7 separate regions of the Homo sapiens genome follow, and all the other regions are linked to region 5. The links are contacts of gene promoters, found by promoter capture Hi-C in blood cells and fetal thymus (Javierre and others, 2016). All regions are on one chromosome and are shown on one strand. The core of a region is centred on a gene start or on the middle of the fragment in contact, and the rest is flanking DNA. Distances in the headings are between cores, read along the strand shown.

Region 1 (3,114 bases), core at 202-2,701, 4.9 Mb before region 5:
CGTAATGCACAATCCCTGGGAAAATTTTAATAAGCACTAGTAATCGATATGTACTCAGCCCTCGTGTTCCTAATGCTTTAGCAAGTAATGACAGTACTTAGCAAAACCATCTGCCAATATGTTTAATGACCATTTCCCATGTGACAGCTTTAAAGAACACATGTCATTTTTATTTACTTTCTCCCTCTCAGTGACCCGGTAAGGTAGGTAATAGGAGTTACCGAGAATGCATTTGAGGTGAAGTGACCCCAAATCACGTGGATAATTCATAACACCCAGTGATCCTTCGGTGCTTTTCAGAAATCAAAGTTTGAAACCATCCTACAAGTTATGTGTGCTGTAGTACTGTTAAGCCTTAATTTCCGTCTGGCTCCCTAATTTTTCTATAAGGAGTTCTGAGTTTGTGGTAAGCAACATGAGAAGTAAGGTCATCTTAGAATACTAAATGAGGAAGAGTCACTGAAATATTAATAGTACTAATTATGAATGCAACTTTTTTGTCCTTCACACAATTTAATCTCCTTCTGTTGCCCTCAGGCTTCATTGTGTGACTGTATCTCTCTACTCTGGCCAGGGTTATCTTTTTCTTTAAATTGTTCAGTAAGCGCCTTAAACATGTCTGGTTTTATTTTGGTGTAAACACAAAATCCAGCACCCTCCTGCTCTAAAGGAGAGGATTCCAACAGGTAGCTGTAAAGTGACAGAAACTTAATTGTTTCATACAGATCTTAAGTTACCTTGTAAAAACTAGGGCAATTATTTTTGTGTACTCTTAATCTGCTTAATTACATAAACTATCAGTGTACCCTTACAGATAGTATAGGTCTAGATACAAGGTAGACATTGTGGCAGAGTTATGCCATTTTATAGCTAGAAGAATCTTAGATCATTTTAGAGGTAAAGTAAGATTGAAATAAAGGCCACTTATCTATTTAATAAGTATATTTTGTTAACAGATTGGACCCTAGGTCTTCTGTTTCCTGTTCCTAACTCTAATCTGTAACAAGAAATTTGATATTATTATATTGTCAGTGTCAAACTCCTGTAACCTGGTATCCTGAATCTGGTTTTTAGAAACAGGAAGCTGGTGAATTTTTTGATGATGTTTTACAAAAGGAAAGTTGTAGTTAGCTTATACCCAGCATCTCCAGTTTCTAAAAACTGTGGACATCTGGTGCTCAGAAAGCTTACCCAAAACGTTGGTTCTCTTTGAACATTTCTTCCTGTAATAGGAAGTTAATAAAACTGTGGTACTTCATCCTACTCCCTTCACAGAGGAAATTTATGTCCCTGCTTTGAAGTAGTTTCATCTTTTTGAAGAAGGTAGTTAAGATGTGTTGTACATATGTGTAAATTTTATCTGAGAATGTTATTAAGTATGGTAAATCCATCTAGGAGTGGTGATCTTCAAAACAAACTAACCAGAAACAGTACTTTTCTGTTTTCTGTAGAGTACATATGTAAATGAATGAGAGATTTCCACATTATGAAACTACTGACTTTCTGAATTAATAAAATGATCCTGAAAGTTAAATTCATTTTTATATTCTATTATTAGTATTTATGTGTTTACTGTGCTCTTAGTGTTTACATAAAAAGTCACGATGCAAAAAACTTTTTTTGTAGGATTATGCTAAAGAGAGATATGGAATATCTTCAATGATACAATCACAAGAAAAACCAGGTTAGTAGCTATGTGACAGTAAATAAAGCTTTTTTGCTTTCTAATTCCAGGAAAGCTCTAAATGAAATTTTAAGTAAGGTTGGCATAAATCTGAAGGTATAATTCTGAAAAGCTTAAATGACATTAATAATCCAAGTAGATGTCATAACCCTGTGTAAACATTGTCAGTTTAGGGTTCCAACTCTAGAAAAGGAAAAAAAATGTTATTAGGTATTGTAGGTTAAATGGTATGTTTTAAATGGTAGATTATATTTTTTAAATATTCCTAAATTATTAGGTAAGATTCAACCGTTGTCTAGGAGATAGGAGAGTGGCTAATAACTGCCTTCATCACATGTAGCCTTTTTGCATGCTTTAATAAAGCTACCTCTTTTACTTCCCCCAACCCCCACAACTTTACTTCTCTGACTGTTTTTAGCTATTATTTATTCCTATTTTGCTTGACTCTTCCCAAACATTTATATTTTCACTTATTCTCTACAGCATCCTTGAAAACTAAGGAACCAAAGTTGAAAGATAAGAAACTTGACTTACACAGAGTCTGCCAGACTTGGGATTAGAACCAAAGGCCATCTGACCCTAGAGTCCATGGGTCCTTCCATCTTACATCTTCTCTGGCTTCTTTGGCAGTACTATGATTTGAGTTTTAAAGCCTCCACCCCCACTCCATTTTGTTTACTCGTAGCTTTAGTGTCTGGGAATGAAATGAATTATTCTTAGACCCCAGTCTATCTTTTCTTATAACCGCTCTTTTTTGTTAGTGTATGTTGGCATCTTTATATTTCTTTTTTTTTTTTTTGGGAGACAGAGGCTCGCTCTGTCGCCCAGGCTGGAGTGCAGTGGCATGATCTCGGCTCACTTCAACTTCCGCCTCCCAAGTTCCTACAATTCTCCTGCCTCAGCCTCCTGAGCAGCTGGGACTACAGGCGCACACCGCCACGCCTCACTTTTTTTTTGTATTTTAGTAGAGATGGGGTTTCACTGTGTTGCCCAGGCTGATCTCGAACTCCTGAACTCAAGGCAATCCACCCACCTCGGCCTCCCAAAGTGCTAGGATTACAGGTGTGAGCCACCGCACCCGGCCTTATATTTCTTTGAAATTGACCTGACTCATGTTGTTTCTCTCAGACCTGTAGATTTTTTATTTATAAATGTTTGCCTTTCTTTTACTTCTATTCTATATATGTAATTTCAACAGATTTGTCTTACTTAACTATTTGACAGTAATTTTTCTTTTGGTAGACACTTCAAATTACGTCTCTCACTCTTTGGTGCAGTAATTGTAGACGTTTACATTCTTGCCCATTGGAAGCACTGCTTCCAGTTTAGAGGGCTGCCTATGAATATTATGCTTTGGAAATAAAACACCTCTAGGTTAATTTTATTGTTATATTTGATTTGCCACATGATCACAAAATCACTTTTCTTTC
Region 2 (3,526 bases), core at 643-3,142, 4.5 Mb after region 5:
CTGTCACCATGCAAGGCAGATAGATGGGAAACCACCATAGGGGCCAAGAGAAAACTCCCTTGCCCTCTGAAAGTTCACTGAAAAATTAACTCGTAAAGGGCAGATTAGCTGGAGAAAAGGTCTACAAGTTTATTTTAACATGCATAGCATAGGAGCATTGTAGAATAATTACCCAATTAACCAATGGGGTACTTCTATATCCTTCTTCTTAGGAGAAGGAGAAATGGGGAAGTGTATTAGTCCATTCTCACATTGCTATAAAGAACTACCTGAGACTGGAGCATTTATAAAGAAAAGAGGCTTCATTGACTCTCAGTTCTGCAGCCTGTACAGGAAGCATGGCTGGGGCTTACAATCATGGCAGAAAGGGAAGCAGGCCTGTCTTACATGACTGAAGAAGGAGGAAGAGAGAGAAAGGGGAGGTGCTACACACTTTTAAACAACGAGAACTCCTGAGAACTCTATCACAAGAACAGCAAGGGGGAGGTCCACCTCTGTGATTCAGTCACCTCCCACCAGGGCACTCATCCAACACTGGGATTACAATTCGACATGTGATTTGGGTGGGGACACAAATCCAAACCATATTAGGAAGTTTGGGTAATTTTAGGAGAGTAATAAGTGACTTTTAGGGAAATTCAATGGGCTTGAAGAACATACAATGGCTTGTGACAAACTGTTGTGCCTAAAGAACAGACCATGGTTTGTGACAAAAGTCTGCCCAGGTGCGTTGACAGACTTCAGACTTTCTTCCTGACATGTGAGTTCAGTTAATGAAAGCCCAGGGAAGGGACCAGGGATCATGTTTTCTTCTTAGGAAGGTCCAGACTTTAGACAGATTAGGGAACTTCAGAGAACAACTTCATCCTGGGCTTTGGGAGAGACAGAGGATTAACACCCAGGAGGTGTTGGTGGGGAGCTGAGAAAGGGGAAAGCCAGACAGACTTTGAGGATTCTTCAGTTCAGCATGTCAAAGGGCCATATTTTGAGGTATTGATTTCTGAGCCCCAACAGCACCCAAGCATTGTGTGAGGCTGTGGGAGCTGTAGTCTACTCCCCTGACTTACAGCAGCACCTCATTCAAGGGTAGATCTTTCAGCATCCAGAATGGCCCCCTTCTGGAAGCTTCCTAATGGGCATCTCTAAGAGAACAGGAAGAGCATAAAAACTCAATGGGAACACTGGGTGGTCTGGGGTGGGCTGAGGCGATGCATAGGCCAGCCTCAACTGCTGGTGTGCACTCTAAAAGCCGATGTCTATGGACTGGGGTTGAGAAAAGTTGGGAAGCTTCAGACTGAGGGGAGAAAAAAGAAAGAGCCCAGAGAAACGTGAGGAGGAGCTTGAATTTCTAGCAAGTCAGTGAAAAAAGGAGGCAACACATAGGCAACCTGGGTGGTTCAGATGCTCCAGGAAGTGTGTATTTTTCCCTAAAAATGCATGGCAGCAGGCACAGGATTATAGGACCCATTTCCTGAGCATATGAGTATTATTAACTGTCACAGCTAATTGTCACAACAGGTGGTGCTTTGTTTTTGTTTATTTTCCTGTTCACTCTTCATTTGACAGAAGCTGAGGACCAGAGGAGTGACTCTCGCACAGCGGCTCGGTGCCTGAGCTGGAATTCCAACCAGGGCTGTCGCCCTCTAAAGCCCTGCCATGGCAGTGCTGCCAGCTCACTCTCCTTGGGCTCCCTTCCCACCTCCCACATCCCCATGTCCCCATGGACTCCTGGTGCCACGGCACAGCTGCATGGGGGTGATTCATGCTGGACACCTGAGACACAAGGAGAGGAGGCAGGGAGCTGCCGAAAGAGGTTCAGTTAAAAACTTCCAACAATGAGGGAGTGAGTTACCAACTTTCAGGAAGCCTTGTTTGGGTCCCAGCCCTTTTCCCTTTGGGTATAATTTGTTGGTATGACACTGAACTAACACATTGCATCTCGAGCTGCTCCCTGCTGAGCTCTGGAGCCCACTAAGGGATGAAAGCAGCTCCTCCTTAGGCCTTTTGTTGTGGCTTTTTCTCTTTTTGGCCAACAGGAGACAGGAATTTGGGAATTATGCAGATGGGGTCTCTCAGAATCTAGCCCTGTGAAGAATAGGTGAAAAGTCTGTCTGGGCATGGTGTCCTGGATAGTCGTCTGGACATGGTATCCTGGGTGTGGAGACTTAGTTTCTTTCTCTGCAGTAAGAATTCACCTTCTTTTGTTAATGTAGATACCAGGGAGGGGATTCATGACAATTGAATTTCTTTTGGAGAAACTTCCCAAGGAAAACTTCAGAGAAAGCCCCTCCACGTGCTTTGGGAGAGAAATAGGATCCAGAGACAGGGGGCAGGGGGAGAGTCAGAGAGACCTTGGTTCTGAGACTGCTCCTTAGTTCAAAGCACTCAGTGCGTCCAAGCACCACACCTTGGGGTATTATTTTCTGAGCCCCAACAGCTACCAAGAAGTGGGAACAGAATGGTAATGATGTTTGCCACAATTTTGCTATAAGCTTTGCTAGGTAACCTCATTAAATTTCCAGAATGGTCTCACAAGCAAGGACAGAGCAGGATTTAGAATGTGGCAGATGTGGCCTCTCGTTCCTGGTTCGCCACCTACCGCTTTGCTTAGTGACTTTGCCCCCACGTAGGTTAATGACATCTGTGTCTGACGTGCTCTGGAGGGTTGAGGCAGGCTCTCCTGGGAGGTTTGCAGCTTCATTAATGATGATAAAGACAAAGGCTTCATAACGCTATAGAAAAAACTAGAAAATACCATGTGAAATAAACACACATGCGTGGATTAGCTGTGCCATGACCACATCCAGATATAACTACTTCCACCCACAGGTAGGAATGGTCATACCAAGGCCATGGGATATGGGTGACTGTTTATTTCTTAACTGTTTTTTTCTCATTTATAAGTTCCTTTGAGTATTTGGCTCAAGTTCATAGATTTAGCATGTTTTGTACTCTCTCCCTCTGGGGAGCCCATTCCAATTGTATAAAGGAATACTGGAAGAAATAAGCTTGCGAGCTGCACAGGGGTTCCTCCAGCCACCTGTGAGATTTTGGGAATTCCTGGCTGCTGGATGGGGTGTGGGAGTGTGCTGAGGGGGAGGCAACAGAGAGCTGGGGACTGCAGCCCAAAGGAAGCCCAGAGGAAGGGTGTGTGTGCGTGCGGGGTGCGGGGGTCTTAGACTGCCAGAGCCACAGGGGTCTGGGCTCAGAGATGGCTGGTTGGAGGGTGGGGGTCTGAACTAGGGATGAAGACAAGGGTTGAAGGTCTCTGCTTGCAGTAGGAGCATGTATATCCTCCCCACTTCCCCACTTCTGGGTACAAAATGTCAGGCAGGCCACAAAAGTTTATCCACAGGGACAAAAAAGTGTGGATGTCTCTAAGAAACTGTAAGAAAGCCACTAGTGTGGGAAGTGAATGCCTCCTGATGTAGTTTGGATGTATGCCTTGCCCACATCTCATATTGAAACATAATCCCCAATGTTAGACGTGGGGCCTGGGGACAGGTGATAGGATTATTGGGTGGGT
Region 3 (3,344 bases), core at 373-2,872, 4.7 Mb before region 5:
GAAATCTATATATTAAATTTAAAAACACATCAACCAATAGCAATATATCGAACTGTAACTCAAACTGAAAAAAAGTATAATATAAATATTGCCTAGATAATTGATGACAAAAAGGATTACTATTAAGCTTTCTGGCTTTGATAATAGTATTGTTGTTATTTTTAAAAATTTCTTATCTTTTAGATATTGATATTTTAAAAGATGAAATCATACAAATGCCTGAGATTTGCTTCAAAATAACCTGGAAGGGTGGTCATATAGGGAGACAGATAACAAAAACCGAGCAAATAATGGGAATCACTGACGCAGGATGATGAGTACCTCGAGTTCGTTATTCTGTTCTCTCTACTTTAGAATATGCTTGCAAATTTCCATAATTAAAATTTATTTTGGCTGGGCGCAGTGGCTTACGCCTACAATCCCAGCACTTTGGGAGCTGAGGCAGGCGTATCACCTGAGGTCAGGAGTTCGAGGCCAGCCTGGCCAACATGGTGAAACCCCGTCTCTACTAAAAATACAAAAATTAGCCGGGCATGGTGGTGCACGCCTGTAGTCCCAGCTACTCGGGAGGCTGAGACAGGAGAATCACTTGAACCTGGGAAGTGGAGGTTGCAGTGAGCCGAGATCACGCCACTGCACTGCAGCCTGGCCAACAAAGTGAGACTCTGTCTCAAAAAAAAAAAATTATTTTAAAAGGCAACTATATATAATCTTAAAAGATTTATATTCCTTTCTTATATTTTAGAGATACATATTGAAATATTTTACCTGAGATTTGTTCTAAATAAGTTGAAAAAGAAGAGGAGTGGAGGGCACAGATGAGAATATTGGCCATGAAGCTAGGCAATGGATTAATGGGGTTTTCTTATACTATTTTTTTCTACTTCTATGTATGTTTGAAATTTTCCATAATAAATAGTTTTAAAAAGCTACAGGCCTGGATCCAATGACTCATGCCTGTAATCCCAGCACTTTCAGAGGGCAAGGCAGGAGGATTACTGGAGGACAGGAGTTTGAGACAGCCTAAGCAACATAGTGAGACCCCATCTCTGCAAAGAATATAATTAAAAAATTAGGCTGGGCGTGGTGGCTCATACCTATAATCCCAGCACTTTGGGAGGCCAAGGCAAGCAGATCACCTGAGGTCAGGAGATTGAGACCAGCCTGATCAACATGGAGAAACCCCGTCCCTACTAAAAATACAAAATTAGCCAGGCATGGTGGCGCATGCCTGTAATCCCAGCTACTCAGCAGGCTGAGGCAGGAGAATCGCTTGAACCTAGGAGATGGAGGTTGTGGTGAGCCAAGATTGTGCCATTGCACTCCAGCTTGGGCAACAAGACCAAAATTCCATCTCAAAAAAAAAAAAAAAATTAGCCAGGTGTGGTGGTGCACACCTGTAGTCCTAGCTACTCAGGTGGCTGAAGCAGGAGATCACGTGGGCCAGGAGTTGGAGATTATAGTGAGCTATGTTTGTGCCACTGCACTCCAGCCTGGGTGACAGAGCCAGACCCTGCAGACACATTTTTGTAGAGACAGAGTTTTGCCGTGTTGTCCAGGCGGGTCTCAAACTCCTGGGCTTAAGCAATCTGCCCACCTTGGCCTCTCAAAGTGCTGGGATTATAGGTGTGAACAACCACACCTGACCAAAAAAAAAAAAAAATTTTTTTTAAGCTAAAAAAAAACTGAGATTAGAGCTGCTACTCACCTCAGGTAAGCCAGAGCTTGCAGTTTTAGTCTAGCCAAGTTAATTGTCTACTAAAACAAAAACAACACTCTTTGCAGGAATATAATGAAATCCAGAGTGTCTACAACAATGTACAAGATACAATCCAGCATTTTTTGACATATGAACAAACAAGAAAATGTGACCCATTCTAAAGGGTAAAGGTGATCAACACAAGCCAATCCTCAGATGAGCTAGATATTGAAACTGTCAGACAAAGACTTTAAAGCAGCCATTATAACTCAAATGAGGAAAAGGGAAATACACTTGAAATGAATTAAAAGAATAAAACGTAGATGAAGAGTACTCATTCTGCACAACTTCTGTAACTTATGAGTCAAACTATTTCAAAATAAAAAGTTATAATAAGAGAGAAAGAAATAGAAATCCTACAACTAAAAAATGTATAACATAATTTTATCTAAAATAAAAAATTCACTGGATGGGCTTAACATCAGAATGGAGATGATAAAGAGTCAGTGAACTTGCAGATCAACAGAATTATCCAATCCAAAGAAGAAAAAATAAGTGTGAAAAAATAAACCTGTGGGACAATACCATGAAGCCTAATATACATGTAATTCATTCCAGCAAGATATATGGACCAAAATTCCCAAACTTGGTGAAAGTCACACATTTACAGATGTAAGAAACTAGGCAAACCAAACACAGGATAAATACAAAGAAAAATACACTTAGGCATATCACAGTCAAATTGCTAAAAACCAAAGAAAGAAAGAAATCCTGAAAGCAGCCAGAGAAAAGCAACATACTCCTTACAGGGGGGAACAATCAGAATTTGTGGAGACTTCTCATTAGAACACTATGAAGACCAGAAGACGGTGGACAATACCTGTAACTGTAAACAAAAATTTTTATATCCAGCAAAAATATCCTTCCAGAATGAAGATAAAACAAAGTCATTTCACATAAAGAAAACTCCAGACCTGTACAATAAGTAATGCTAAAGGAAAATTTTCAGGCTGAAAGAATATTATACCAGAGGGAAACATGTGTCTATCTTCAAAATGGAATGAAGAATTTTGGAAATGATATATATCCAGGTAAATACAATTAAAGTAATTATTCTGTCGTAGACCTAAATGAACATCCATAATAGAGTCCCCCCGTTCCGTACACATCCAGAAGTTGAATGATCCATCCGATGTAAAACCTCAAAATGAGACAAATAGCTGTATTTCAAATATTCAAAACCTGTCATGTGTAACTCCACAAGGCAGCATTAATGTTAACAGGAAGTTATGGGGCATCAAATTTCAGCTCAATATAAGGAAGACTCTTTCTAAAAACTAGAGCTGTTCAACAACAGAACAGGCTTCCTAGCAAGGTAATGAGCTTCCCATCATTGAATGCATTCAAATAGAAGCTTGATGATTATTTGTGTGGGATGCTGGAGTAGATTCATCTTTTAGGACACTAATATCCTAACATCTTGATTTATTTACCCCTCGGTTGCCTAATACAAAGCTATATTACACCAAACAACTCCAACCACAATCCCAAAAATTTCTCTTTTGCCTTTTCTATCAATGAGTTTACAGTCACACCTCTTACTTCTACAAGCTCTATTTCATAATTATCTTTTACCTCTAATCAA
Region 4 (3,115 bases), core at 77-2,576, 4.6 Mb before region 5:
TGGGTCAATTAAGATGAGAGACTAAAAAATGTCCATTGTTTTTAGTAACACAGAGGTCATTTTAAGCTTAGCAAGAGCAATTCTCATGGTTCTTGTGTACAGAAGCCAGATGGCAAAAGGTTGAAAAGTAAGGGGAGGTAAAGAGTCAGTGAGTGTGAAGGTGAGAAGGAAGAAAGGAACATTAGCTGGACAGGAATTTGGATTTGAAAAGACAGCCTTTTTAAAGATGGGAGAGATTTGCATAAAATTAAATGCTAGTGGAAAGGAACTGGTCTTAGATTGAACAAATGGGAAAATGGAAGGCCCCTCTGGAGATGGGAGGGAAAATGGGGTATACAGCACATTCTGTTGATGGCCGATCCAGCAGTCATTCTTCTACCATGCCTTCTATTATTCCTTCCTGACAGAATTCACTTTCTACTGAGAGGCAAAACTGCTGGGTGCAGTAGCTCACTCCTGTAATCCCAGCACATTGGGAGACTGAGGCAGACAGATCACTTGAGGTCAGGAGTTTGAGACCAGCCTGGCCAACATGGTGAAACCCCATCTCTACTAAAAATACAAAAATTAGCCAGCCATGGTGGCATGCACCTGTAATCCCAGCTACTTGGGAGGCTGAGGCATGAGAATCGCTTGAACCCGGGAGGCGGAGGTTGCAGTGAGCAGAGATTGCGTCACTGCACTCCAGCCTGGGCTACAGAGTGAGGCCCTGTCTCAAACAACAACAACAACAAAGCAACCTGCCAGATACTGGGCTTTTCAACCTCCCCTTGAAGCCAGTAAAACCTTGTAGGAAGGGTAGGGGGGTGGGAGGGGCTACTTCCAGGAAAAGCTTTCTTAATAAAAGACACATAGAAGAAAGCACAGATTGGGCGCAGTGGCTCATGCCTATAATCCCAACATGTTGGGAGGCTGAGATGAAAGGATTGCTTGAGGCCAAGAGTTCTAGACCAGCCTGGGCAACATAGTAAGAGTGCCTCTACAAAAAACAAAAAACAAAAACAAAAATAAAAAAAGAAAAAATTAGCCGGGTGTGGTGGTGTGTGCCTGTAGTCCTCAGGAGGCTAAGGTGGAAGGATTGCTTGAGCCCAGGAGGTTGAAGTTGCAATGAGCCATGCTCACACCATGGCACTCCAGCCTGAGCGACAGAGTGAGACTCCGTCTCAAAGAAAAAGGAAAAAAAGAAGGCACAATCTTCCTTTGCTGGATGTGGTTATATGCAAATGATGCCAGGTACTGCTGCAGCCATCTTGTGGCCATGAGGAAAGACATTGCTTATGCTCTAAGAATGGCAGAAGGGAATCTAGAAAGCACTTGTGTCTATGATGACCTCACAGAGCTCCTGAACCAACCCTGGGACTACTCAGCCTCCATATGTCTTGTTTTGTGAGATAGTAACTGTCCTCACTAGTTAGGCTACTGGAAGTTGGATCTTGCTTCTTGTAATTACCACCATTCTAAACAATCTGGGGTGGGATCTAGAATACAGGCAGATAGAAGAGATACCCTTCCCATTTTAACAGACAGAGGAAAGAAAAAATAACTTATGTATTTTTGTTGTTGTTGTTGTTGTTTTGTTTTGTTTTGTATTTTTAGTAGAGACAGGGTCTCACCATGTTGCCCAGGCTGGTCTCAAACTCTTGAGCTCAAGCATTCCACCCACTTCAGCCTCCCAAAGTGCTGGGATTACTGGCGTGAGTCACCACACCTGGCTGAAAAAATAACTTCAGATATAAATAAGTTTATTTAAAAAAACAGACATAAATATGTTTATACATTTCAAAACAATAATTTGAGGAAGATTTTACGTGAAAGCTTTAGCTTTTTTTTCCTTGAAGGAGAGGTTATTTGCTGAGAGTAAGGGGGGAAGTAAGGAAATTGACGCCTTGAGTACAAGGAAACAAGGTTTGAAGTAGTGTTGAGTGTTGGAGGGCAAGTGGACTAGGGAAACACAGTGTGCCAGACAGTGCAGAAGGGACTGTGAAATTGGTGGTCTTGAATTTGCCCAATTGTGTAATTTTCTTCAGCGGTCACTTAATCCCTGAGGGCAGGCGTGGAGAAAGTGGAGACTTGGATTTATCCAGGGTTTTAGGTGCTAGGCAGTGGGAGAAAGAACAAATGAAAAAGAAGTTTAGGAGATTAGCAATGGAACAAACAATGTGATGGAACATGGAATCTAAATTGGTTGGGGGATGGGCGCCGTGGCTCACTTTGGGAGGCTGAGACAGGTGGATCACCTGAGGTCAGGAGTTGAAGGCCAGCCTGGCAAACATGATGAAACCCCGTTTCTACAAAAAATATAGAAATTAGCCAGGCGTGGTGGCTCATGCCTATAGTCCCAGCTACTCGGGAGGCTGAAGCATGAGAATCACTTGAGTCCAGGAGGCGGAGGTTACAGTGAGCTGAGATCACACCCCGCACTCCAGCCTAGGCAACAGAGTGAGACTTGGTCTCAAAAATAAATAAATAAATAAATAAATAAATAAATAAATAAATAAATAAATAAATAAGTTGGGGAGGGAAAGAAATGCAGAAAGGAGAAAAAAACAAACAAATAAAATGGTACAGGGGAGGCAATGGCCTGGAGGGCTCAGAGTGGGCAGGAAACAGGTCAGCAATATGGAGTTTTAAAATGCTGGCTGGGCGTGGTGGCTTATGCCTGTAATCCCAGCACTTTGGGAGGCCGAGGCAGGTGGATCACCTGAGGTAGGAGTTCAAGACCAGCCTGGCCAACATGGCAAAACCCTGTCTCTACTAAAAATACAAAAATTAGCTAGGCGTGTTGATGGGCGCCTACAGTTCCAACTACTCAGGAGGCTGAGGCAGGAGAATCACTTGAACCCGGGAGGAGGAGGTTGCAGTGAGCTGAGATCGCATTATTGCACTCCAGCCTGGGTGACAAGAGCGAAACTCCGTCTCAAAATAAATAATAAATAAACAAATAAATAAATATAAATAAAACGTGGCCAGACACGGTGGCTCACAACTGTAATCCCAGCGCTTTGGGAGGCCGAGGCTGGCAGATCACTTGAGGTCAGGAGTTCGAGAACAGCCTGGCCAACATTGTGAAACCCCATCTCTACTAAAATTACAAAAATTAGCCAGGCATGGTGGC
Region 5 (3,201 bases), core at 559-3,058:
TTCCCATCCAGCAATGTCTGAGAGTGCGAGCTTCCTGGCAGCCTTACCAATAGCATTGTCAATTTTTTGGATGTTTGCCAATCACAGTGAAAACTGCTACCTCAAAGAGTTTTAACTTGCATTTTTCTTTATAGAAGTGAGATTGGATATTTTTCATATGACTAACAGCCAGACTTAGTCCTTTGCTGTGAACTCTCCTTTTTCTATTGGGTGGTAGGGCTTTTTATTGTTGACTTCTGGAAGCTTTTGGAATATTAAAGAGATTAGCTTTGTCTATTACATGTGTTGGGACTATTTCTTCCTTGTTAATCATTTATCTTTTGACTTTGCTTATGGTGCTTTTTGCCGACCAAAGCTTTTCATAGTCATGACTTCTGGATTTCAAGTAATAATGTAGAAAAGCCTTCTTTACTCCAATACTAAAAAGGAATTTCCCCATGTTTTCTTCTTGTCCTTTTATCACATTTATATTTTATTTTTATTTTTTTTTTTGAGACGGAGTCTTCCTCTGTCGCCCAGGCTGGAGTGCAGTGGCCCGATCTCGGCTCACTGCAACCTCCGCCTCCCGGGTTCAAGAGATTCTCCTGCCTCAGCCTCCAGAGCAGCTAAGGTTACAGATGTGCGCCACCACGCGCAGCTAATTTTTGTATTTTTAGTAGAGACGCGGTTTCACTATGTTGGCCAGGCTGGTCTTGAACTCCTGACCTCGTGATCTGCCCGCCTCGGCCTCCTATAAGTGCCGGGATTAAAGGCGTGAGACACCGCGCCCATCTGTTTTTATTTCATAAACGACTGAAAAAAGACCAGAGCCAGGCCTCCTCCCTTCCATCACTAATCTTTATTGCAATAACTCCCTCCTTTGTCGTCCTGTACCTAGCTCAGACCAGACGACACCCCAAACACAAACACCAAGACACGCACCTCTTTAATACGAAATAATAAACATACCTCCCCCAGAGAGACACCCTGAACTAACCAAATCATTGTAACTATACACTAAGCCTTACATAAAAATACTAACATTTGGCCGGGTGCGGTGGCTCACACTTGTAATCCCAGCACTTTGGGAGGCCAACGTGGGTGGATCACCTGAGGTCACGGGTTCGAGACTAGCCTGACCAACATGGTGAAACCCCCGTCTCTACTAACACAAAAATTAGCCAGGTGTGGTGGCGGGCGCCTGGAATCTCAATTACTCAGGAGGCTGAGGCAGGAGAATCGCTTGAACCCGGGAAGCGGAGGTTGCAGTGAGCCAAGATCGCGCCATTGTACTCCAGCCTGGGTGACAAGAGCGAAACTCCGTCTCAAAAAAAAACCAAAAAACCCCCTAACATTCTAGTACACTTCCCTGAACTCTTGTCTATAGAAATGATCCCGCACTTCTACACTTGAAACGCTGACTTGCATTCTCTAAAATCTGCACTCCTGAGCGGGCGCCCGCAGCCTCCGCACTGGCAAAGAATCTGTGAGCTGAGCTCCGCCCCGCTCCGACCCCGTAGTGGCGGTCACCCGGGGTGTGCTCGACTCCCGGGTGCGGCCTGAGGATCCGCGCCCTGGCGTCTGGGCACACACAAAGGTTTCTGCGGCGCGGGACTATCTCAAAATATAAATTAAATACTTTTTTCACAGACAGTTAATAAAAAAACTACAGCTACACCCGGCCCTTTCGCCAACTGGGACCGGCCCACTCCGCGCTCGCGCTCGCGCTCGTCCATCCGGGCGTCTCGAGGGCGCCGGCGGGAGCGAGCACGCTGCGCAGTCACGTGCCCGGCGCGCCCCCGTCGCGGCGCGCTCAGGCGGAAGTGAGGTCGGCGGCTCCGGTGGCTGCGCAGCGTCGGCGGGGAGCGCGGGCTGCGGAGAGGCGGGCCGGGCCAAGCGGAGCCGAGCGAGCGGGAGCGCGGCGTCCGGGAGGCGGCGGAGACGCGGGGCTCGGAGGGTCAGCCTCTTATCGTAGCAGGTCTCCTCGGCACGCCCCCCTTGTTTCGCCCCACGGCCAAGCCCGCCGCGGGCCGGCGTGCGCTGGTCACTGAGGCCCAGGTCGCCGCCGCGGCGCGGTGAGTGGGGGCGGGCAGCGGGCGACTGCGCGTCCAGGCCGGAAGTGCGGCGCTTTGTGCGGCCGGCTCGGGGCGGCGCCAAGGTCGGCCCGCGGCTCGGGGTCGCTGGGCGTCTGGACCGGCCTGGGCTGCGCTTTGTGCCGCGGGCAAGGCCGGGCGGGGGCCGGGGGCGGAGCTCGGCCGGACACGTACGCGTGCAGGTGCGGTCCGGGCGGCGCGGGCCTGCCGCCTAGGTGGCCGAGGTGGCTTCGCGGCGCGGGGCGTTCTCCTAAAGGTCGGGGTCACAGCCGTCAGGAATGCGAGCGTGAAACCCGGGGGCAGAGCTTTGTGACAATAGTCATTTCCAATGTGTAACTGCTCACTTTGTCTACCCACGAAGTAAAGATAATTTTTATTTTTATTTTTTTGCTTGGCGGAATCTGAGCGTTCTCCTTCCAGCTTGAAAAGGCACGATTTAAATTACAGATTTTTAAGATTTCCTTCAGAAAGGACGTTTCGTGGCCTAGCCTGGGTTAACTTTGAAAAAAGAGTGCAGTGCGCCTTTACGACGTCCACAAATAAGGGTATTTCTGTTTTATAGTGTATGTGAACATGAAGTGTGCATCTCATGGGCTGTTTGAGTTAATGTTTAATCATTAAAGTCAAACAAGAATATTTTGCAGTGTTTTCGCATGCAAGGAAGCTTTATAAATAAAAAGGTTTATATAGTTTCCACTCCTTAAACTTTCAGGTCATCCTTGTGTAATTTGAGATCACTTTTCTCAAATACTATGGATGAAAGATTCTAGATTAAATAAAACTTTTTGGTTTTGGCAAAAACAGGACACATTTTTAAGCTCTTGTAGATGAAGGAGTGGGTTATTTTTGCTTTGACAGCCAAGATTTGAGCAGTGTAAGGCTATTCTAATTTTGAAGCTAGTGTTGCAGAAATTGTGAAGATCTTGCTTCTCTTTGTCTTTACAAAGCAGGCTTACTTTGGTGGAGTTCCGTAGTTTAAAGGGAAATTATACCCAAGTTGTCTTAGACAGTTTCTTTTCCTGGATCAATTGAGCACTTTTTTTTTTTTTTTTGAGACGGAGTCTCCCTCTGTTTCCCAGACTGGAGTGCAGTGGCGCCATCTCGGCTCACTGCAAGCTCCGCCTCCCGG
Region 6 (3,265 bases), core at 326-2,825, 4.4 Mb before region 5:
CAAATATGCCAAATTTTTAGAAATTGAGACGTGTCCAATTATTCCTGTCAGACTGGTATCCTATTACTTAGAAGATCTTGTTTCACATATTATAAATGGGTAGACTTTCAGTTTGACTTTAATCATCTTTTCATTTAAAAGTTTTTGTCATCAATGATATTTAAGCTAAAAAAGGTTTCTTACAGTTACAATTAGGTAAACTATAACCATGAAGATATATATATATATATTTAGAAAATTTTATTAGAAAAACCATTTGCTGTTCACTAATCCTAATTTGGAAAGCACCTCTTCTTCACCTTTTACTTAACTATCCCAGGACAATTACACACGGAGCATGATAGTCCCAATAATTTAAGTTTCTTTATAAAAACAAGCTCAACAGAGTCACCCTTTGCACCTAGTCACAGCAACAAAAGAAAACAAAACACCAAAAAACTTCAAAGCCCACAAAGATTTGTTGGCAGCCTAAGGCTCAGGAATCAAAACGTGTGTAAATCTGATCCCGGGGGACCGTGGCACTGACAGTCATTCAACTTTCTTTTTAATATTCCCATTGTGCTTTTTCTGGTACCACAGGGAAAATGTACCTACATTTTACCAACCGGTCGAAGCTGAAAATTCTCTTGGTGCAAGGCCAGGGGATGCGGCCGTGGGGCGGCCGGGGGAGCCCGGGGCACCGGCGCCAGCCACACGAGAGAGCAGTACCACGCTCTTGGCAGGCCTGCTGTGGCTGGCTCCCGAGTCCCTGGGGCTGCAAGAGCAGCCGCGGAGGCAGCAGCAGCAGCCATGGCAGGGACTCGGAAACCTTTCCCCTGCCTCCTCCGCTAGGCCTCGAGGGGTTTGCTTTTCACATGGCCCCCGGGTGGGGGCGGTGGGCACAAGGCAGTGGCTGCAGCTGCAGCCGGAGCCGCAGCCGCGGGCCAGGCGAGCCTGGCTCACTCGGAACCCGACCTAACGGCGGGCTGGCAGCAGCGGGACGTCAGAAGGCCCTGGCTGAAGCGCCGACGACCCGGCGGGGAAGGCCACCTTTCCACACACCACATCTCTCCCCTGCCTGCCTCCTTCTCCGTTAGCGCTACCGGTTGGCGGGCGGGGGAGGGGAGCAAGGCGCGTTATTCCCGGGGAGCTGGACGGGGGAGGGAAGGGCATCTCTTACCCGCGTTACTGAGGAGGAGGAGGCGGTTGGAGCGCGGCGCGGCGGGGCGACGGCGGGGCTGGGTGGGTGCAAGTAAGAGTCTTACGAAAGGGAATTAACCCCATCACCAGCCCGGACACCGGCTCCAGCGGCAGCCGCGGCTGGCAGAATCCCGCCCCTTCCCACCACGCACTAGCCCCGCCTCTTCGTTCTCTTTGAGCGGCAGCCGACTATTCATAGGTTGTACGTCCCCGGAGTGACATGAGTTTTGCCCAATCAAGCTTGAAAAAAACTGTCTTCTCTCCACCCCTTTACCTCCTCCCAGGCCGCGGAGAGCCGTGCCAAATCTTCCTCCAACCTCAAGAGAAAAAGAACCAATCCGTGGTAAGTAACCGCCCTTGAAGGACGCAAAAGCCAACCAATGGTAAAACTAGGAGGACAGCCATTTTGCCCACTTGTAAAAGAGCTACCTTTTCCCACGAGTTGGAGCCTGAGGTGCGGAGTTTCGTGAGTTTTTACTGACTCGAGGTATTTAAAAGACAACCAGATCTCCTCAGTGGGTATTTATAGTGCTTTTTAGGGGTAAAGGAAAATTATCCTCCATGTGGGGCGAAGTGAGGCATGCTGCTTAAGGGGTTGGCTCCTCCCCTTAGCGCTAACGGGTTCTGAAACGAACACCTGGTTTCTCCAGCTTCAGTGGCGGAGGGCGGGGTGATTGCTCTTTTCGGCCTGGAGCGGACTACGATTCCCAACATGCTTTTCCCCTACTCATAACTTCTCCTCCGTTCACTTGTCGCGGTGCTTGGCTGGAATTGTAGTTCCTGAGAGGTACCCATGCCGCCGCTTCAGCCAATGAAAAGGGACAGAGTTTTGAATGACTTGAAATTAGGGCGGAGAACGAGTTGTCGCGAGGCTGTACAGAGCCCTTTTCGCAACCCTAACGGGAGAGAAGTGATGGAAGAAGGGTAGCCGGAAGAGTTTCCTCAAAATACCATAGGGGTTTTAAATTATTAGTACGTATTTAAACTCATCTACTTTCACGTTGTCCCGTTGAACGTCACTTCCGCTTAGGGGCGGACACGTCCCAAACCTGTGGCGGGAGTTGGAGATTCTGCGGCGAATACGCCAGGTGTGACTGGCTGGAAGTGGCGTGGCTGGCAAGTCGCTAGTTTCTTGCATGGGAGATAAAAAGTTGAACGGAATTTAATGGCATTTTAAGAAAGAGTGGGTGACATGGGATGGGGGTAATTTCCAGGGCCCTTATTACTTTCTCCACCCCGGCCTTCAATCGCGGGCGTCTCGGCCTGCTCGCTATTAGATTGCACGGCTAAATTTGTAGAAAGTACCTCTACTGCCTTTAGTCTTCGCGTGGTCAGTTTGAACTGTAAAGACAGGGCTCCGAAGTTCTGAACTACATTTACAGACACACTTTTTTTTTTTTTTTTTGAGACGGAGTCTTGCTCTGTCCCCAGGCTGGAGTGCAGTGGTGGGATCTTGGCTCACTGATTCACGCCATTCTCCTGTCTCAGCCTCCGGAGTAGCTGGGATTACAGGCGCGCGCCACTCAGCCCAGCTAATTTTTTGTATTTTTAGTAGAGACGGGGTTTCACCATGTTGGCCAGGATGGTCTCGATCTCCTGACCTCGTGATCCGCCCACCTTGGCCTCCCAAAGTGCTGGGATTACAGGCGTGAGCCACCGCGCCCGGCCACAAACACACTTCTAAAGTCAGCTTGGAAGGAAAAGAGTCACAGAAAAGGGCTTTTCTGTTTGAAGGATTGATAATCAAGAGTGGCCCCATCACCACTCTTTGAGTAACGACCATTTATTAAACGAGTGGCAGACAGGCGCGGTGGCTCAGACCTGTAATCCTAGCACTTTGGGAGGCCGAGGCGGGAGGATTACTTGAGGTCAGGAGTTCGAGACCAGCCTGGGCAACATGGTGAAATCTTGTGTCTGCTAAAAACTCACACACACACATTAGCCGGACGTGGTGGCAGAGATCTGTAGGATCTGTAGTCCCAGCTACACGGGAGGCTGAGGCAGGAGAATCGCTTCAACTTCGGAAGTGGTTACAGTGACCCGAGATCGCGCCACTGCACTCCAGCCTCGGGTGACAGAGCGAGAC
Region 7 (3,179 bases), core at 273-2,772, 4.8 Mb before region 5:
TAAAGAGAAGAAATTTAATCACTGACTCATGTCTTTGACCAATGTCAAGGATTCTCCAGGGCCTTAACCCCTCTCTCCTTCAAGGTGCTTCTGAGAGGCATGAGCCTGTTACTCAGTGGGGACGACGGAGAAGCCTGAGAGCCACAGAGGGCAAGAGTCATCAATGAGCGACTCAGAGCCCATATGGAGCTGAATGACAGACAAGTGAACCTGGGAGGATCTTAAGGGGGACATAAAAGCATTTTATGGTAGCTATAAAACAAGAGTAAATTTGTATGCAGCTTCATATTTCTTAATTTATAATATAATGTAAAGTATATTTAAAATGATAGGTTATTATGAATTGAGGAGTATATGAAAGTTAAAAGTGAGTGTATTAGCCAGGTTCTCCAGAGAGCAGAACTAATAGGAGGGGGGGGGGGGCAGATTTATTATGAGGAACTGGCTCATGCAATTAGGAGACTGGGAAATCCTATGAGCTGGCATCTGCAAGCTGGAAACCCAGGAAAGCTGGTAGGTAGTTCAGTCTCAACCTGAAGGGCTGAAAACCAGGGGAGACAACGGTGTAAATCTTATCTGAAGGCATACGATGAGACAAGATGTCCCAGTTCAGGCAGTAAGGCAGGGAAAAGAGGGCAAACTCCTCTTTCCTCTGTCTTTTGTTCCATTCAGGCCCTTAACTGACTGGATGGTGCCCACCCACACTGGGCAGGCCAATCTATTATACAGATTCTGTCTATTCAAATGCTAATCTCCTCCAGAAACCCCTCAAAGACACAAGCAGAAATAATATTTAATCTGGGCAGCCCATGACCCACTCAAGTTGGCACATAAAATTAACTCTGTGTGTGTGTGTGTGTGTGTGTGTGTGTGTGTGTGTGTGTGTGTATGGAATTCTGGTGTTCAGCTTTTGGAAAAACTAAGAATCATATAAAAATAACTAAAAATTGCCATTATTTGAACTTATTTTGTTAGACATCATAGTTGAACTTATTTTGTTAGATATCAAGATCAAACTTTGCTTATTTAAGTAATTAGGAAGAAAGTCATACTGCTAAAAACTGGTTAGCAGCTAGCATACATTTGTTGTTGTTGTTGTTAATAAGAAGTAGAACGGGCTGGGCACAATGGCTCATGCCTATAATCCCAGCACTTTGGGAGGCTGAGGCAAGAGTATAGCTTGAGCCCAGGAGTTTGAGACCAGTCTGGGCAACATGGTGAAACCCCATCTCTGCAAAAAATACAAAAATTAGCTGAGTATGGTGGTGCACACCTGTAGTCCCAGCTACTTGTGAGGCTGAGGTGGGAGGATCACCTGAGCCCAGGAGGTTAAGGCTGCAGTGAGCTGTGATTGTGCCACTGCACTCCAGCCTGGGTGACAGAGTGAGATGCTGTCTCAAAAAATTAAATAAATAAATAAAAAAGAAGTAAAATATACCAAATATTTTATAAGATGAGGGTTGACTGCATTGAAAGAAAATATTTCATAATATGAGAAATATCTTATTGAATATTGCACACCACCCACAACAAATCATGTAACTTTTTAATCTGCTGGTTTTATTTAGTGTAAGTTGAAGTGTCAGTGATTCTGGAAAATATTACAGTTATATTTAAAATAATAAGCATCACTAACCTGCACTGCTACAGCTGTTTGAAGGATGTTTCCTTCCCAGCTAAAAACATGTCTCAGGAAAAAGAACCCTTATGTTTTAGAAAATCATTCTGAAATATCTACAAATGAAAAGATACAATGTTTTGCTTCAAAATCATAAGGTAATGGTAAGAAACCGTATACTTTACCTCTGTGATCATCCTTCCCTAACCCATAATCACTGTCTAATCATGAGAAAAACGTTAGACAAATCCCAACTGAGAGACATTGGCATTAAAACTATGGAAAGTCTGAGAAGCTGTTACAAACCAGAAGAGTCTAAGAAGACATGACCACTAAGTGTAATGTGGCATCAGGATGAGATCTGGGAAGAGAAAAAGAACAGTAGGGAAAAACTGGTGAAATCTGAATAAATTGTGCAATATTAGTTAATACTAACATACTAAAGTTGGTTCCTGAGTTGTAATAAATGTATTATAAGAGTGTAAGATATTCACAGTAAAGGAAAATAGGCAAGGTGTATTTGAAAATTCTGTACTATCTTTTGCAACTTTTGGTAAATCCAAAGCTATTCTAAAATAATTTTTTAAAAAGAATCATGGATGGCTGGGCATGGTGTCTCACACCTGTAATCCCAGTACTTTGGGAGGATTGCCCAAACCCAGGAGTTCAAGACTGACCTGGGTGACATGAGGAAATCTTGTCTCTTCAAAAAATATAAAAATTAGCCAGGCATGGTGGTGCACATCGTGGGAGGCTGACGTGGGAGGATCACTTGAGCCCAGGAGGTCATGGCTGCAGTGAGCCATGATTGTGTCACTGCACTCCAGCCTGGGTGACACAGCAAGACCCTGTCTCAAAAAAAAAAAAAAAAAAGGCCCCAGTGTGGTGGCTCACACCTGTGATCCCAGCACTTTGGGAGGCCAAGGCAAGAGGATCGCTTGAGCCCAGGAGTTCGAGGCCAGCCTGGGCAACACAGCCAAACCTCGTCTCTACAAAAAATACAAAAATTAGCCAGGCGTGGTGGCATGTACCTACTTGGAAGGCTGAGGCAGGAGGATCGCTTGATCCCAAGAAGTCGAGGCTGCAATGAGCCGTGATTGTGTCACTGCACTCCCGCCTGAGTGACACAGCAAGACCCTGTCTTTAAAAAAAAAAAAAAAAAAATTTTAGACTTCCAGGTATTCAGCATAAATCACATTGTACAGTTTAGGTACAATGAGCCATCATTATCAAGGGATAGTGTTATATCGATGTAGAGAATTATTTACCAGTCAAGTTCCCAATGCCAGCCAAAGGCCAATCTTGTGAACAGGACTTTCTAAGGATAGCAAGCAGGCCTGGGCACCAGTGCACACACATAGCATACAACTTTCTGGGGTGTGACAGAGATATTTCATAATTCATACCCTCCTCCTGTTGTGGAAGTTATCCCTACAAACCTCACTTACAGACATCATCTACTATTCTGATTCAGAGATACATGTCTGAAGGAGGAAGGGAACACCTGTGAGATATGGAGAGCTGAGAAGAGGAAGCCTTGAGTTTCTCAATGAGCATAGCT

Evidence for each region. Contacts are between HindIII fragments. The CHiCAGO score rates a contact against its expected background, and 5 or more counts as called.
Region 1: a contact is called between a fragment that was not itself captured here and the fragment with the promoter of FAM168B in region 5, in 2 of 17 cell types (fetal thymus and M2 macrophages). The highest score is 9.8, in fetal thymus.
Region 2: a contact is called between a fragment that was not itself captured here and the fragment with the promoter of FAM168B in region 5, in 1 of 17 cell types (total B cells). The highest score is 9.7, in total B cells.
Region 3: a contact is called between a fragment that was not itself captured here and the fragment with the promoter of FAM168B in region 5, in 2 of 17 cell types (total CD4 T cells and total B cells). The highest score is 9.4, in total CD4 T cells.
Region 4: a contact is called between a fragment that was not itself captured here and the fragment with the promoter of FAM168B in region 5, in 9 of 17 cell types (total B cells, neutrophils, naive B cells and 6 more). The highest score is 23.9, in total B cells.
Region 6: a contact is called between the fragment with the promoter of ZRANB3 here and the fragment with the promoter of FAM168B in region 5, in 10 of 17 cell types (total B cells, naive CD4 T cells, non-activated CD4 T cells and 7 more). The highest score is 32.5, in total B cells.
Region 7: a fragment that was not itself captured here is called in contact with the fragment with the promoter of FAM168B in region 5 in 1 of 17 cell types (fetal thymus); the score reaches 7.5 in fetal thymus.

Annotation. Positions count from the first base shown.
Region 1 is chr2:135,981,967-135,985,080 of GRCh38, reverse strand. It overlaps DARS1 (aspartyl-tRNA synthetase 1), which reads left to right. Exons shown (of 16, transcript NM_001349.4): 2 at 1,627-1,684. Among named protein-coding and RNA genes, the nearest start is that of DARS1-AS1, 1.7 kb to the left of the region's middle. The HindIII fragment of the contact is 526 bases long and covers 1,189-1,714 here.
Region 2 is chr2:126,641,825-126,645,350 of GRCh38, reverse strand. No RefSeq gene overlaps it. Among named protein-coding and RNA genes, the nearest start is that of GYPC, 13 kb to the left of the region's middle. RefSeq lists a cis regulatory region at 1-230 and enhancers at 406-505, 586-635. The HindIII fragment of the contact is 1,205 bases long and covers 1,290-2,494 here.
Region 3 is chr2:135,756,105-135,759,448 of GRCh38, reverse strand. All of the region lies in intron 5 of UBXN4 (UBX domain protein 4), which reads right to left. Among named protein-coding and RNA genes, the nearest start is that of UBXN4, 16 kb to the right of the region's middle. The HindIII fragment of the contact is 2,986 bases long and covers 130-3,115 here.
Region 4 is chr2:135,735,645-135,738,759 of GRCh38, reverse strand. No RefSeq gene overlaps it. Among named protein-coding and RNA genes, the nearest start is that of UBXN4, 4.7 kb to the left of the region's middle. The HindIII fragment of the contact is 983 bases long and covers 835-1,817 here.
Region 5 is chr2:131,092,067-131,095,267 of GRCh38, reverse strand. It overlaps FAM168B (family with sequence similarity 168 member B), which reads left to right and starts at 1,808. Exons shown (of 7, transcript NM_001009993.4): 1 at 1,808-2,054. RefSeq lists a silencer at 1,635-2,354. The HindIII fragment of the contact is 2,381 bases long and covers 358-2,738 here.
Region 6 is chr2:135,529,528-135,532,792 of GRCh38, reverse strand. It overlaps ZRANB3 (zinc finger RANBP2-type containing 3), which reads left to right and starts at 1,575. Exons shown (of 21, transcript NM_032143.4): 1 at 1,575-1,666. It overlaps R3HDM1 (R3H domain containing 1), which reads right to left and starts at 1,309. Exons shown (of 27, transcript NM_001378107.1): 1 at 1,160-1,309. RefSeq lists a silencer at 1,143-1,332 and enhancers at 1,300-1,594, 1,563-1,832, 2,183-2,262. The HindIII fragment of the contact is 14,144 bases long and covers 1,422-3,265 here.
Region 7 is chr2:135,879,585-135,882,763 of GRCh38, reverse strand. No RefSeq gene overlaps it. Among named protein-coding and RNA genes, the nearest start is that of MCM6, 4.7 kb to the right of the region's middle. The HindIII fragment of the contact is 3,748 bases long and covers 1-3,179 here.